5 separate regions of the Homo sapiens genome follow, and all the other regions are linked to region 1. The links are contacts of gene promoters, found by promoter capture Hi-C in blood cells and fetal thymus (Javierre and others, 2016). All regions are on one chromosome and are shown on one strand. Each heading gives the region's core, a stretch centred on a gene start or on the middle of the fragment in contact. The rest is flanking DNA. Distances are from core to core; before and after follow the strand shown.

The links. The method cuts DNA at HindIII sites, captures the fragments that hold promoters and counts their contacts. A CHiCAGO score of 5 or more calls a contact.
Region 2: a fragment that was not itself captured here is called in contact with the fragment with the promoter of TMEM222 in region 1 in 2 of 17 cell types (endothelial precursors and M1 macrophages); the score reaches 5.8 in endothelial precursors.
Region 3: a fragment that was not itself captured here is called in contact with the fragment with the promoter of TMEM222 in region 1 in 2 of 17 cell types (naive B cells and M1 macrophages); the score reaches 5.6 in naive B cells.
Region 4: a contact is called between a fragment that was not itself captured here and the fragment with the promoter of TMEM222 in region 1, in 1 of 17 cell types (endothelial precursors). The highest score is 7.1, in endothelial precursors.
Region 5: a fragment that was not itself captured here is called in contact with the fragment with the promoter of TMEM222 in region 1 in 4 of 17 cell types (M0 macrophages, endothelial precursors, M1 macrophages and 1 more); the score reaches 6.0 in M0 macrophages.

What each region holds. Positions count from the first base shown.
Region 1 is chr1:27,320,828-27,323,558 of GRCh38, forward strand. TMEM222 (transmembrane protein 222) reads left to right here and starts at 1,336. Exons shown (of 6, transcript NM_032125.3): 1 at 1,336-1,564. The coding sequence starts at 1,371. RefSeq lists enhancers at 750-1,296, 1,297-1,844, 1,344-1,693, 1,845-2,391. The HindIII fragment of the contact is 7,674 bases long and covers 1-2,731 here.
Region 2 is chr1:27,029,483-27,032,213 of GRCh38, forward strand. LOC101928391 (a long non-coding RNA gene) reads left to right here and starts at 2,276. Exons shown (of 8, transcript XR_007065559.1): 1 at 2,276-2,347. The HindIII fragment of the contact is 2,970 bases long and covers 1-2,731 here.
Region 3 is chr1:27,594,673-27,597,403 of GRCh38, forward strand. All of the region lies in intron 3 of AHDC1 (AT-hook DNA binding motif containing 1), which reads right to left. Among named protein-coding and RNA genes, the nearest start is that of AHDC1, 8.1 kb to the right of the region's middle. RefSeq lists enhancers at 380-509, 1,124-1,649, 1,650-2,175. The HindIII fragment of the contact is 1,987 bases long and covers 412-2,398 here.
Region 4 is chr1:27,055,337-27,058,067 of GRCh38, forward strand. All of the region lies in intron 5 of LOC101928391 (a long non-coding RNA gene), which reads left to right. Among named protein-coding and RNA genes, the nearest start is that of TENT5B, 44 kb to the left of the region's middle. RefSeq lists a silencer at 2,702-2,731. The HindIII fragment of the contact is 1,845 bases long and covers 501-2,345 here.
Region 5 is chr1:27,576,881-27,579,611 of GRCh38, forward strand. The region is part of intron 3 of AHDC1 (AT-hook DNA binding motif containing 1); the gene reads right to left. Among named protein-coding and RNA genes, the nearest start is that of AHDC1, 26 kb to the right of the region's middle. The HindIII fragment of the contact is 2,136 bases long and covers 271-2,406 here.

The DNA.
Region 1 (2,731 bases), core at 86-2,585:
CCCCAAATGGGAAGCTCCTAACTTCCTGAGTGCATTTGTCCATACCTTCCTTTACCTGATTACTCTTTTTATTCTTTTTTTTTTTTCTTTAAGGCTGATTTTTAGTGGCAGCCTTCCTTCTGACTTTGGGCTGTCCCCAACTTCCCCTCCCCACCCCAGTAGACCCCAGTAGACTTCATTTTCTTTGTCTTGACATCCTTTAAAAAGCCAAAAGTCTCCAACATTTGAGCCTGGCTTCTCTCTAATTATGGTTGTGTGTGATCTCAAACAATTAACTTCCCTGAGCCCGTTTTCCCATTTGTACAATGAAGGGATTGGATCACATCTAAGGCTTATGATTTACTCCAGTAAGTATTCACACTCTTGCACACACTGCTCTGCACGGCCTTCCTTTCTTTGTACCGCTGCACTCATACTTCCACTCCTGTGCCACATGGCAAACATCAAGACTCAACTCAATAATATCCTATCTTCCAGCAAGTCTTCCCTGTATATACAATAAAACACACACACACACACACGTGCGCACACACAACTGTGTGTGTCTTCCTTTATGCTACCACTACCTCGTGAGAGGGCCACAGAATGAAAAGGGCAAGGGAGGTATAAGACTTGGGTTTGGGCCAGGCGCGGTGGCTCACGCCTGTAATCCCAGCACTTTGGGAGGCCAAGGCGGGCGGATCACAGGGTCAGGAGTTTGAGACCATCCTGGCTAACATGGTGAAACGCCACCTCTACTAAAAATACAAAAATTAGCCGGGCGTGGTGGCACGCGCCTGTTATCCCAGCTACTCGGGAGGCCGAGGCAGGATCGCCTGAACCTGGGAGGTGGAGGTTGCAGTGAGCCGAGATTGTGCCATTGCCCTCCAGCCTGGGCAACAAGAGAAAAAATTCCGCCTCAGAAAAAAAAAAAAAAAAAAAGACTTGGGTTTGCATCGTGGTCTCTCACCTTTTGAACCTCAGTTTCTCACCTGTAACAGGAGGGAATACCTAATTTGGATGTCTAATTAGTTTATGGGGATTAGAAACAATTCATGTCAAGTGCTTGGCACCTAAGAAGTGCTCAATAAATAGCGACTGTACCACACCTCCTAGGAGCCCTCAGCGTACTGAATTAGAGTTCTCTATAAGTCTCCGGCGCTAGACTGCGAACTGCCTGAGAGCATCCCTTCTGCAGCCGCGGGGCATAAGCGGCAAAGACTCGGGGCTGGCAGGCGCATAGGGAGTGGGGCGGGGCTGGCCGGGCCCAGAGGAACGCGGCTCGGATTCCCGGGGGAAGGCCAAGCGGGGCGGACCCCATCTCCGGGAAGTGACGCCATGGGGACGAGCGGCACCAGAGCCGGGGCCAGTCGGAGCGGGGCGCGCGCCGCATGGCGGAAGCGGAAGGGAGTTCTCTGCTCTTGTTGCCGCCGCCGCCACCCCCGCCCAGGATGGCGGAAGTGGAGGCGCCGACGGCGGCCGAGACGGACATGAAGCAATATCAAGGCTCCGGCGGCGTCGCCATGGATGTGGAACGGAGTCGCTTCCCCTACTGCGTGGTGTGGACGCCCATCCCGGTGCTCACGTGAGTCTCTTCCGGCATCCGCCTGGGGACGAGGAGGGCCCAGGGAGAGCCGGAGTCGGGCCGGGCTAGCCTCCGGCCCCAACGCGCAGCAAGCCTTTTCCTCGGGTCTGGCCCGCACGCCTCGCCCAGTCACCAGAACCCCGCCATCCATGTAGTGCCAGTTTGTGCACACGGCTGGGACACGCTCCCTGCTCTCAATACACCTGGTGTAGCCAGGGAGAGAGTTGTAGGCCAGCAGGAAAGGGCAAGTGGCTGGGAGACTCGAGCTGTGAGTGTGTAGAAGAGGGAGCCCCTTATCGGATCTGAGGAGACATTTTTATTAATTCACTGGTTTATTCTCTCATTGAGCAAATGCTTACTGGTCGCTTACCATATTCCAGACATACTGCTGGGTCTGGGAGCAAGAGTGGGAGTTTGGTTGGGACCACACGAGATCCTGGGATGTCAACATTGGAAGGGCCCCCAGAGATCTGAGAGTCCAACCCTTTGTCTCACGTGCCATCTCAGTTGCAAACTGGGTTTAGATCCCAGGTTGTCTGCCTCCCAGACCAAAGTTCTTTCTGTAACATCAGCCTTTGTCAGGGGAGAAGCAGGTGCTCTGGTACTACTTGGCGCCTTTTGGGAGGAGCTCTCATATGGGGAGAGGTGGTTTGCCCTCCTGCTTCAACCTTGACAGCTGATAAACGTAACCCCTCCTCACCGTGCTGGATAGTTTGCCAAGCTCTTAAACACCCATTTTATCAGAATTAAACATCCATTTTCTAAGGTAGGTTATCTTCTCAGATGGTGAAGCTGAGCTGCTTGTAGCATTAAGTGTCTTGATCAGGTTCGCACCCCAATAAGCAAAGGCATGAAGAGCTCAGTCTTCTGATCTAACTTGCTCTTTGCACTACATCTTATCCACTCTCACCTGATGGGATAGCTTGTTCCGCTATCAATAACAGCCAGTGGTGATGTGGAGAAGGGATCATTTGGGGCCTTAGGTGTTGCTGATTCTAAAAAGATCGTAGTTTTTGAATTATGTTAAAATACTTGAATTATTTTGTGTTTTCAAGTACTTATGCATATAAGAGCATCCAAATCTGTTCTTTAAAAATAAAATATTGGGACAGGCGCGGTGGCTCATGCCTGTAATCCCAGCACTCTGGGAGGCAGTGGAGGGTGGAT
Region 2 (2,731 bases), core at 142-2,641, 290 kb before region 1:
GCCCTGAGAGAGAATCTGCAGGGCCAGAGGCTGGAGTCTGAAGACCAAGATAGGCACAGAAGCCTGAGCTGTCCCTGGCACGATGTGAGCAGGGCAGATGTTCCAATCTCCCTTCCCTCAGGTGTGGAGCGGCTCATGAAGCCCCTCCCTGTCTAGAAGCTGGTTCGGCCCATCTGATCCGACCCTGCAGGGAGGCAGGCAGAGGTGAGTGGTGAGAAAGCCCATTTCACAGGTGAAGAAACTGAGGCTCAGGAAGGTGGCGATTTGCGTCTCTATCTCATCTCGCCTGCCAGGGTAGAAGCTCCTCAGATTCAAGCGCCATTTAGTTCCTGCTTCTGTTTCCTCAGAGCCATGCTGTTGATTGAAAACAGGAGTGAGTGTTCCTCAGTGGGTTCCCAGCCCCAGCAGGCCTCACGCCCCCTTTTGTAACAAGTATCTTGCAATGCCCCTTTCCTATAATGGAATACAATTCATAGATTATGTGGTCTATTTATACACTACTAATTTTTTTTTTTTTTTGAGATGGAGTTTCACTCTTATTCACTCTTATTGTCCAGGCTGGTGTGCAATGGCGTGATCTTGGCTCACTGCAACCCCTTCCTCCCGGGTTCAAGTGATTCTCCTGCCTCAGCCTCCCAAGTAGCTAGGATTACAGGCATGTGACACCACGCCTGGCTAATTTTTTTCTTTTGTTTTGTTTTGTTTTTTTTTAAGATGGAGTCTCACTCTGTCGCCCAGGCTGGAGTGCAGTGGCGTGATCTCGGCTCACTGCAAGCTCCGCCTCCTGGGTTCACGCCATTCTCCTGCCTCAGCCTCTCGAGTAGCTAGGACTACAGACGCCCACCACCATGCCCGGCTAATTTTTTTTGTATTTTTAGTAGAGGAGACGGGTTTCACTATGTTAGCCAGGATGGTCTTGATCTCCTGATCTTGTGATCCGTCCGCCTCGGCCTCCCAAAGTGCTGGGATTACAGGCGTGAGCCACCGCGCCTGGCCGACGCCTGGCTAATTTTTGTATTTTTAGTAGAGACGGGGTTTCACCATGTTGGCTACGCTGGTCTTAAACTCCTGACCTCAGGTGCGCCTCGGCCTCCCAAAGTGCTAGGATTACAGGCGTGAGCCACTGCGCCCAGCCTATTTATTTATTTATTTTGAGACAGAGCCTCGCTCTGTTGCCCAGTCTAGAGTGTAGTGGCTCAATCAAGGGTTACTGCAACCTCTGCCTCCTGGGCTGAATCTATTCTCCCACCTCAGCCTCACCAGTAGCTGAGACTACAGGTGCACGCCACCACACCTGGCTAATTTTTTTTTTTTTTTTTTTTTTTTTGTAGAGACTGGGTCTCACAGTGTTGCCCAGGCTGGTCTTGAATTCCTGGGCTCAAGTGATCCGCCCTCCTCGGCCTCCCAAAGTGCTGGGATTACAAGCATGAGCCACCGTGCCTGGCCTTGGCCTTGTCTGTCTTTTTTTTTTTTTTTTTTTTTTTTTTTGAGACGGAGTCTTGCTCTGTCACCAGGCTGGAGTGCAGTGGCGCGATCTCGGCTCACTGCAACCTCTGCCTCCTGGGTTCAAGCGATCCTCCCTGCCTCAGCCTCCCGAGTAGCTAGGACTACAGGCGCACGCCACCAAGCCCAGCTATTTTTTTTTTTTTTTTTTTTTTTTTGGTATTTTTAGTAGAGACGGGGTTTCACCACGTTGGCCAGGGTGGTCTCCATCTCTTGGCCTCGTGATCAGCCGGCCTCGGCCTCCCGAAGTGCTGGGATTACAGTCGTGAGCCACCGCGTCTTTTTAAACCTGTAAATACTCAGGCCTACTCTTGTAGAAAAAAGGCTTCTCAAATTTGAAAGTGCCCGGGAGCCACCTGGGGCACATTCCTTGGAATGTGCAGGTTCTGAGTCAGCAAGTCTGGGGCTAGACCTGAGAGCCTGCATTTCTAACCTGCTCCCAGGTGGTGCCCAGTTGTTGCTCCTCAAGCTGGGAAAAGATGACCTTGGCTGCAGATCTGAGGGGCTGCGAAGCCCAGGGCGTCCAGTTCCCGAGGTGCCCTTCCGCCCAGAGCCGCCCTCTCCCCAGACCCCAGTGAGGGTCAGCCCTCTCCCAGGCCTGCCCTGATCGCTGCCCAGGGAAGCGCCCGCCCTGCCGCAGCCGCCCAGTCTGATTCCTGGCATCCACGTGGCAGGGCGCCCGCTGCAGCGACAGCAGTTCCCACGGGAGGAGTCGCACCGGGAATGGGCCGCGGGGGAGGGAGAGAGTGGGAGGGAGTGAGGCCCCGGGAATTGTCCTCTGAAGGGGCGGCGCATGGGCGTCCCCCGCCCTGCTAGCCCCATCTCCTTCCCTGTCCCTGCTTGGGTGAGTAAATCCCTAGTGCTTTGATTCGCTTGCCCCTCCTTCCGTCTCTCCCCACTTCCTCCTCGCTCGCTCGTTCCCTCTGCCTTCAATCTGAGCTGGGCCCTTGCAGTGAGGAGCCCACGGTTACCTGGCTGTTCCCTGCCCGCCACCTCCCTCCAGGTGGGAGGCTTATGGAGGGCTATTGCTGATCTGGGCAGGGCAGGGGCCGTGGTTCCTGGGGAGGACGGAGGAGGTCTCCCACCGTGAGAACGAGGCCAGGCTAATCTGCTCGCCCGGCGCCGCTGGAAGGCAAAACATGAGCCCCTAACAACAACAACAACTGTCCTTCCCTCCCAGGAGGACTGCACTCTGCAGTTTACAGGACACTTCTCTTGCCACTGTCAT
Region 3 (2,731 bases), core at 155-2,654, 270 kb after region 1:
GCCTGGGCAGCAGAGAGAGAGAGAGCGAGAGCACACAAGAGTGAGCAATGTGTGTGACAGGCTGAGGCTGTCTAGGGGAACAAGGTGGGGGAGAGGGTGTGCTGGAATGTGCCAACGGTGGGAGTGAGGGCTGCAGAAGGATTAGGCGGGGTATGTGACAGGGTGCCGTGGGGTGCAGGCGGAGCACAGAATGGGTGCAGGGTTGTGACTAGCTGAGGCTGTCTTTGTGTACAGGTGTGGTATCGGGGTGTTTGGAGAGGTGTAGGGGTGTCCCTGGGCCCTTAGGTGGCTGAGGAAAAGTACCGGAGCTGAGACTGTCTGGGAAGCGGTGGGGCCGGGCCATTAGGACTGCCTGTCGAGGAGGTGCCGGGATCCAGGAGGCAGTGTGCACAAGTTTCAGGAGGTATTAGAAGCTTCGGGGCCTGATCTGTTAGAGATATACTAGAACCGAAGCCATGTCTGTGTGTTTGAGGCAAATGTTGTGGCTACAGAGGGTGTTCTTGTTTGAGTGGGTGTTTGAAGCAGTGAGTGTATGTGTGTTGTAGGGGGAGGCTGTATGTTTGGAAAGGTATAGGGGATGATACCGGTGTTTGGGGAAGTGCTGAGCTATAGCTGGGAGAAACGTTGGGGGCTGTGGGCAGAGTGTGTGTGTCTGGGGAGGTGTCAGGGCTTTGAGGGTATGAGTCAGTGGGAAGGTAGCAGGGCTGTAGCTGGGTCCTGGGTGTATCTGGCAGTGTTGGGGTTGGATAGGGGGTTGATATGCTGAGGGTGTGATAGCTGTGTGTGTGTGTGTGTGTGATTGTGTGTGTGTTGGGGTGTTTAGGGATGTATTGGGGGGTCATAAAAATGTGGGTTTTGGTTAAGTACTAGGGCTGTGAACATGTGCCTGGAAAGGTGTTGTGGTTGGTGGAGGATGCACTGTGGTTTTGGGGAGGAGCTGGGGAGTGTCTCTGGAAAGGTTATTGGGATTTTAATTGGGTACCTGCAAGGGTCTGGGGAGGCGTTAGAGACCTGAGGTCCCTCCATACGTGGGAAGGGAAGAATGGGTCTCTGATATCAGAGATGTGCCACAGGCTATCGTCCGTGCATGCACAGGTATGAGGGCTGTAACCAGGTTCCTGGTGTCAGGGAGGTGTTGCAGGTTGTGGGTAAGCATGTGGTGGTTGTGTGTTTGGGGGTATGTGCATGTGAGGTAGCTGGATGTCGGGGGGTATCTGTATGTAGAGTGTGTGTGTGGAAGTGTGTGGGCTGGGTGTTGTAGGTGGAGCAGTTGTGTTTTAGAGGTGTTAGAGCTGTGAGTGTGTATGTGGGGCAGTTGTCTATTTAGAAGGTGTTGGGAGCTGTAACTGAGTCCCTGGACCCCAGAGAGGTGATGGGGCTGCAGGGTTTGTGTGTGTTAGGGGGGATGCCCCTCTGGGAGAATGAAGGGCAGCATCCTGGCCTTTGCTCCGGGGCCTAACTGGGGGCTACCCGCTAGAACCCCTATGGTATGGGGTGCCTGTGCGGGGGTGTTGAGACAGGCAGTCCATCTGTCTCAGCCTGTGCCCAGGCCCAAGGAGCAGAGCTGCCTCCTCGCTCCCTGGGGGGCAGCAGCGGATCCAAGCCCACCCATCTGCCTTCAGATGGTCGAGGCAGGAGCCTCCACAAAGCTGCCTGGAGGGCAGCACTGCGTTTGAAGAGACACAGGCTGGGGGTGGGGGAACTGCACAGCAAACAGTCCTCACGGAGGCTCCTTTAAAAACCACTGACGCCAGAAGAGAGGAAGAGGGAGGACAGGGGCGGGTATGTCTGTCCTTGTGCATCTGTGTGGGTCAGTGCCCAACTTCCAGGCCGGGGGCCCCTTCCCACGTGCTTGTGCTGGATGTTCCTGTTCAGGTAGCACTCAGGCCTTGGAAAACACTGCTCCAATCCAGGCAACAGGCTCCCAGCCTCACACCTGAACTACACCCTCATATCTGCATAGTCCCTACACTCACACGCACTCATACACCTTCCCACATGCATGCCTGCCACTGCACGCTCACACATGCAGTTTGCCCCATGCCCTTAAACCTTCATATATGTACCCCCATCACACATACCCCACCCTGCAAAACCCACAGTTACACACACCCATCTTACACACACACCTATCACATAAACGTGCATCCACACATACATACCTGACAAGTCACTCTCACACACACACCCACACACTCCACACACCTTGGAGCTCCCTGTCACACCCGTACCCTATCTCACATACACCCAGTCTCTCTCACACTCCATGAGGACACTCGCCATCCCTTCTACCTGCACATGCAAGCACATGTTTATACACATATGCCTCACCACCTTTGAGACAGCTCCCCACTACCCAAGCCACTGGGCATTTCTCTGTGTCCAGGTCAGGCCCTGAAGCTTTCCAGAAGGGCTCTCACCGACTGAGAGGACCTTCTGCCTCCCCACCTTGCCAGCCGGGTTAGAGTATGGGGGTGGGGGGCAGGTGGCAGGGGGAGGTTCTGTGTGCTCTGGTGTGACTGCCACTGTATGTAGGAGGGTGTCCCATGACAGGGCCTGTGAGTCAACACCTGTACAGGGAAGGAAGCACAGGTGCGTGTTCACCAGCTATGTTCGTGAGATGCAGAATGAGTGTGAGGGTGGAGATTTACATGTCACAAATTTGTGTGTGTGTGTGTGTGTGACAGTGTGAGAGTGTGTGTGTGAGAGAGAGAGAGAGAGAGACGCAGGG
Region 4 (2,731 bases), core at 173-2,672, 270 kb before region 1:
GGGAGGCCGAGGCGGGTAGATCACGAGGGCAGAAGTTCAAGACTAGCCTGGCCACGATGGTGAAACCCCGATTCTACTAAAAATACAAGAATTAGCTGGGTGTGGTGGTGGGGGCCTGTAATACCAGCTATTCTGGAGGCTGAGGCAGAGAATTGCTTGAACCTGGGAGGTGGAGGTTGCAGTGAGCCGAAATCGCACCACTGCACTCCAGCCTGGGCGACAGAGTGAGACTCCGTCTCAAAAAAAATAAAATAAAATAAAATAAGCTGGGTATGGTGGCCCACACCTCTAGTCCCAGCTACTCCGGAGGCTGAGGTAGGAGGATTGCTTGAGTCCAGGAGGTGGAGGTTGCAGTGAGCTGTGATCACACCATTGCACCCCAGCCTGGGTGACAGAGTGAGACCCTGTTTCAAAAAAAAAAAAAACAGAGACAGAAGAGTGAGGTGGGAAAATACCCAATCCTTTGGCACGTATCACTTCGATTCATATTTCTTTGCTAAAGCTTGGGCCCATGGCTTCACCTAGTTGCAAGGGAAACTGGGAAATGTACTTTCTTTCTTCTTCTTCTTCTTTTTTTTGAGATGAAGAGTCTCGCTCGCTCCGTCGCCCAGACTGGAGTGCAATGGCGTGATCTCGGCTCACTGCAACCTCCGCCTCCTGTGTTTAAGCAATTCTCCTGCCTCACCCTCCCAAGTAGCTGGGATTACAGGCACTGGCCACCACACCCGGCCAATTTTTTGTATTTTTAGTAGAGACGGGGTTTCATCATGTTCGCCAGGCTAGTCTTGAACTCCTGACCTCAAGTGATCCACCCGCCTCCGCCTCCCAAAGTGCTGGGATTACAGGTGTGAGCCACCAGGCCCGGCCTGGGAAATGTGCTTTCTAGCCACGCAGCATGTGCCCAGCTAAAATATGGCCATTCTATTTATTAAAGAGAGAAGGAGAAACTACGCATTTGAGGATGACTAGCAGTCAATGCTGTGTAATCTGCCTCCAGGGTTCTCAGCAGTGTTCTCAGTAAATATGAGTATCCCATGGATTAGGTGGTTTAATTTCTTATCATAAAACAATCATAAGTATCAAGTTTTTATCTATGAATTGGTTAGGGAGATTTAGGCTGCAAGTAACAGAATACTAAGCTAAAAGTTGTCTAAAGAGTTGGGAGTTTCCTAGCTTAGCCAACATAAGAGGAGACCTCTATCTTTACAAATAATTTTTTTTTTTTTTTTTTTTTTGGAGACAGAGGCTTGCTCTGTTGCCCAGGCTGGAGCGCAGTGGTGCGATCTCGGCTCACTGCAACCTCCACCTCCCGGGTTCAAGTGATTCTTCTGCCTCAGCCTCCCAAGTAGCTGGGACTACAGGCACATACCACCACGCCTGGCTAATTTTTGTATTTTTAGTAGAGATGGGGTTTCCTCATGTTGGCCAGGCTGGTCTTGAACTCCTGAACTCGTGATCTGCCCGCCTCAGCCTCCCAAAGTGCTGGGATTACAGGCGTGAGCCACTGTGCCCGGCCTTCTCCGAATAATTTTTTTAAATGAGCCAGGTGCGGTGGTATGTGCCTGTGGTCCCAGCTACTCAGGAGGCTGAGGCAGGAGGATCGTCTGAGCCTGGGAGGTCAAGGCTGCAGTGAGCCATGATCACACCACTACAGTCCAGCCTCCAGCCTCTGCAATGGAGTGAGAGTGTCTCAAAAAAAAAAAAAAAAAAAAAAAAACACAACAAAAAAACCCCACAGGACTTTTATCTTAAGATATCTTGGGGTAGACCATTTTTGAGTCAAGGCCCTCATGGTTGAAAGATGACTACCGTGGCTCCAAGCATCATATCCACAGAGAGCAACTAAATAACAGCTGTTATATATTGAGTACTTATCATGTGCTAGAACTGTCTGGGCATTTTAGGTGTATTCACTCATTTGATTTTCACAGCACCCTGAGAAGAAAGTCCAATTATTTTCATTTTGCAGAGGAGGAACACGAGGTACAGAAAGGTCAAGTAATCTGCTTAAGACAACACAGCCAATCGGAGGCAGAGCCATGCTTTTAGCCCAGATGGTTTGACCCTGGAGCCTGCACTTTTGTGTGGCTGCATTTGCCACGGGCAGCATCTCAGGAAGGGAGGCTTGGACAGGGGTCCTCCTAAAACATCTCTTTTTGTAAGAGGAGGAAAATTCCTCCCAGAAGCCCCCAGCAGCCTCCCCCTCTTATCTCATTGGCCAGAACAGGGTCCCATGGTTCTCCCCAACCCAATTACCAGCAGAGGGGAGTGGATCAAATGTAAATATCCCAGTCACCATCCACCTGGGGGTAATTAGTACATTGTCCTCCCACCAGAACAAAACAAGCTTCTTTTAGCAAGGAAGCGGGGGGGCAAATATCTGCCCCTAGGCAGAACCCATGGTTGGTAGCTGGGGTCCGCCAGCCCACTGGGATTGAAATAAGGTTGGCTCAGACCCCATCCCTTACTTTCCACAAGGCTTCTGCAATTTCTCAGGCTTACAATTGTGTGCCTCTGATTTCCGGCTTCTGCTGAATTCTAGCAGCTGTTCCCTTTATTTCTGCCCTGGAATTGACTCAAATGTAGGATGCAGCCCGTTTCTTCTCCCAAGAAACCGTGGATACCAGACTGCTCTGTAAGCAGAATTTCACTAAGATTTGTGGGTCCCTGGAAGAGTTATAGAGTGGCTCAGCACACGACTGAAAGTGGCACTGGGACGTCTCTGCTCTTA
Region 5 (2,731 bases), core at 89-2,588, 260 kb after region 1:
GCACTGGCCATCCTGAGTCTAGCACCTCACACACACACATATATACAGTGCATCCCAGTGCTCACCGCCTGCCCACACCCCCCAACGCCAGCACCCACCGTCATGACATGAACACAGAGACCAGTACCCTACCTTGCACTGGTGACAGCGCCCCTGTCACAAAGCCAGCAGCTTCAGACAGCATCCCTCAACATTCTTCCTGGCTACTCTGTCCCTGTCCCTCACTCCCTCTCCAGTAGCTCACAGTCCAAATCCCACAACGGATGGGGAAGCTTAGGCCCAAGAGGAAGGGATGGGAGGACACAGTCATCCCTCCTGAGACCCGGGGATAGGATCATAAATGAGGAAAGAAAATTGCCTTTGGCCAGTGAATGACAGACGTGGGCATCCAATACAAATCATTCAGCTCCTGGTCGGTTGCCCCACTGCAGCCCTCTGAATCTGTTCAGCTCCTGCCGTGCGGCAGCTAGAGGGGCCCCCAGGACAGGATTCTAGAAATGGGCACCAAGCTGGGACCAGAGTCCTAAGGACCACTCTCTGCTCCCAAGTGTCAGTCCCAGACTATGGGCCCCTAGGTTTCACTAATCCATCAAATTCTAGACTCAGCCTAGCCTCAGAGCCATGGGGGCAGGGGCATCTGGGGGTGAGGGGAGATGGCATACAGGGGGAACAGCCTAGGACAGGGCTTGGAGCTGCTTCCTGCTCCCCCCACTCCCAAGCAAGGAAGCACAAAGACTGGCAGGCCCCCCACTCCGCCCCGGAAACCTGGCAGTTTATTTCTGTCTCTGGGCCCCCTGTTTCCACAGAGTCAGTCCAGGAAGGCTGGCAGCAGCTGGCTCGGAGGGGTGGAGCTCCTGCTCTCTCAAGGGTCCAGCTGCCACCCTGCTCCCCTCCCCCTGACCTGCCAGGCCAGACAAGACTGAGGTGACACTGGGATAAGGGACAGGAACTGGGGGCCAGTGCTCAGAGGTGATACTGAATACCCTGAGAGGCCAGAGCCCCAACAGAGATTCCACCTGAGGCCAGGGAGTTAAGACTCCAGGGGAGGGAACCCCTGACTCCCCAGCCCACAGCCCAGATGTTCTCCCAGGCAGTCAGACTACACCCAGTTCAAGTCTGCTAAGGGTGTAACCTCTGGCGAGTACAACCCTACTTGTTCCAGATTATTCTGGCTCATAACTCCTCTGGACCCTGGTCCCAAAGAAAAGCCTGTTTCTAAATCTGTGCTGTCCAACATGGTAGCCACTAGCCACATGTGAGTGTGGCTAGTCAGAACTGGAATGTGCTGTAAGTACAAAATATACACCAGATTCTGAAGTCTTAATGTATTTTTTAAATATAAAATACCTCATTAATAATTTTTATAAGGCTTATACATTAAAATGCTAGTACTTTGGATATATTGGGTTATATAAGATAAATTGTTGGGCCAGGCACAGTGGCTCATGCCTGTAATCCCACACTTTGGGAGGCCGAGGTGGGTGGATCACCTGAGGTCAGGAGTTCGAGACCAGCCTGGCCAACACGGTGACACCCCATCTCTACAAAAAATACAAAAATTAGCTGGGTGTGGTGGTGGGCACCTGTAATCCCAGCTACTTGGGGGGCTGAGGCAGGAGAATCGCTTCAACTCGGGAGGTGGAGGTTGCAGTGAGCTGAGATTGTGCCACTGCACTCCAGTGAGGGCAACAGAGCAAGACTCCCTCTCAAAAAAAAAAAGAAAGATAAATTGTTAAAATTAATTCCACTTACTTCCTTTTATGTCTTTTTACTTTGTTTAATGTGGCTACTTGAAAATTTTAAATTACATATGTGGCTTCTCTTTTTTTTTTTTGACACGGAGTCTTACACTGTCGCACAGGCTGGAGTGAAATGGCGCTATCTCGGCTCACTGCAACCTCCACCTCCCAGGTTCAAGAGATTCTCCTGCCTCAGACTCCCGAGTAGCTGGGATTATAGGTGCCTGCCACCATGCCCAGCTAATTTTTTGTATTTTTAGTAGAGACGGGGTTTTACTATGTTGGCCAGGCTGGTCTTGAACTCCTGACCTTGTGATTCACCTGCCTCGGCCTCCCAAAGTGCTGGGATTACAGGCGTGAGCCACCACACCCGGACACATATATGGCTTCTATTATGTGTCTACTGGATAGTCCTGTTCTAAATCTTTTTTTTTTTTTTTTTTAAGACAGTGTCTGGCTTTGTCACTCAGGCTAGAGTGCAGCGGTATAATCACAGCTCACTGCAGCCTCAATCTTCTGGGCTCAATCTTCCCACCTCAGCCTCTTGCATAGCTGGGACTACATGCTACCATGCCCAACTAACTTTTTAACGTTTTTGTAGAGACAGGGCCTCACTACGTTGCCCAGGCTGGTGTTCTAGGTCTTGTGGGTTCTGGCTTTGGACTAAAGCTTTGCCTTCTCTGGATCCGTATCTGTGTGACTTTAGCTCACTCACTTTCTCATATCTAGACCACAGCCTTATGTGTTAGTCTAAATCTCACCACCCCACACCACCCCACCCCAGTTTTCCGTGAATCTAGGTTCAGCCAGAGATGATGGCTTAGTCTGCTTTATACACACTATTTAGTGCATTTCTTGTTCATCAATCCCCAATATCTAGATCCCAGCAAGAGTGTGACTATAGATCACCTTTCATGTTAACTTGCCATGGATCTAGGTTCCAGCCTGACATGTCAACATTGTTTGCTTAGATCACTGTCTAATTAGGTTTA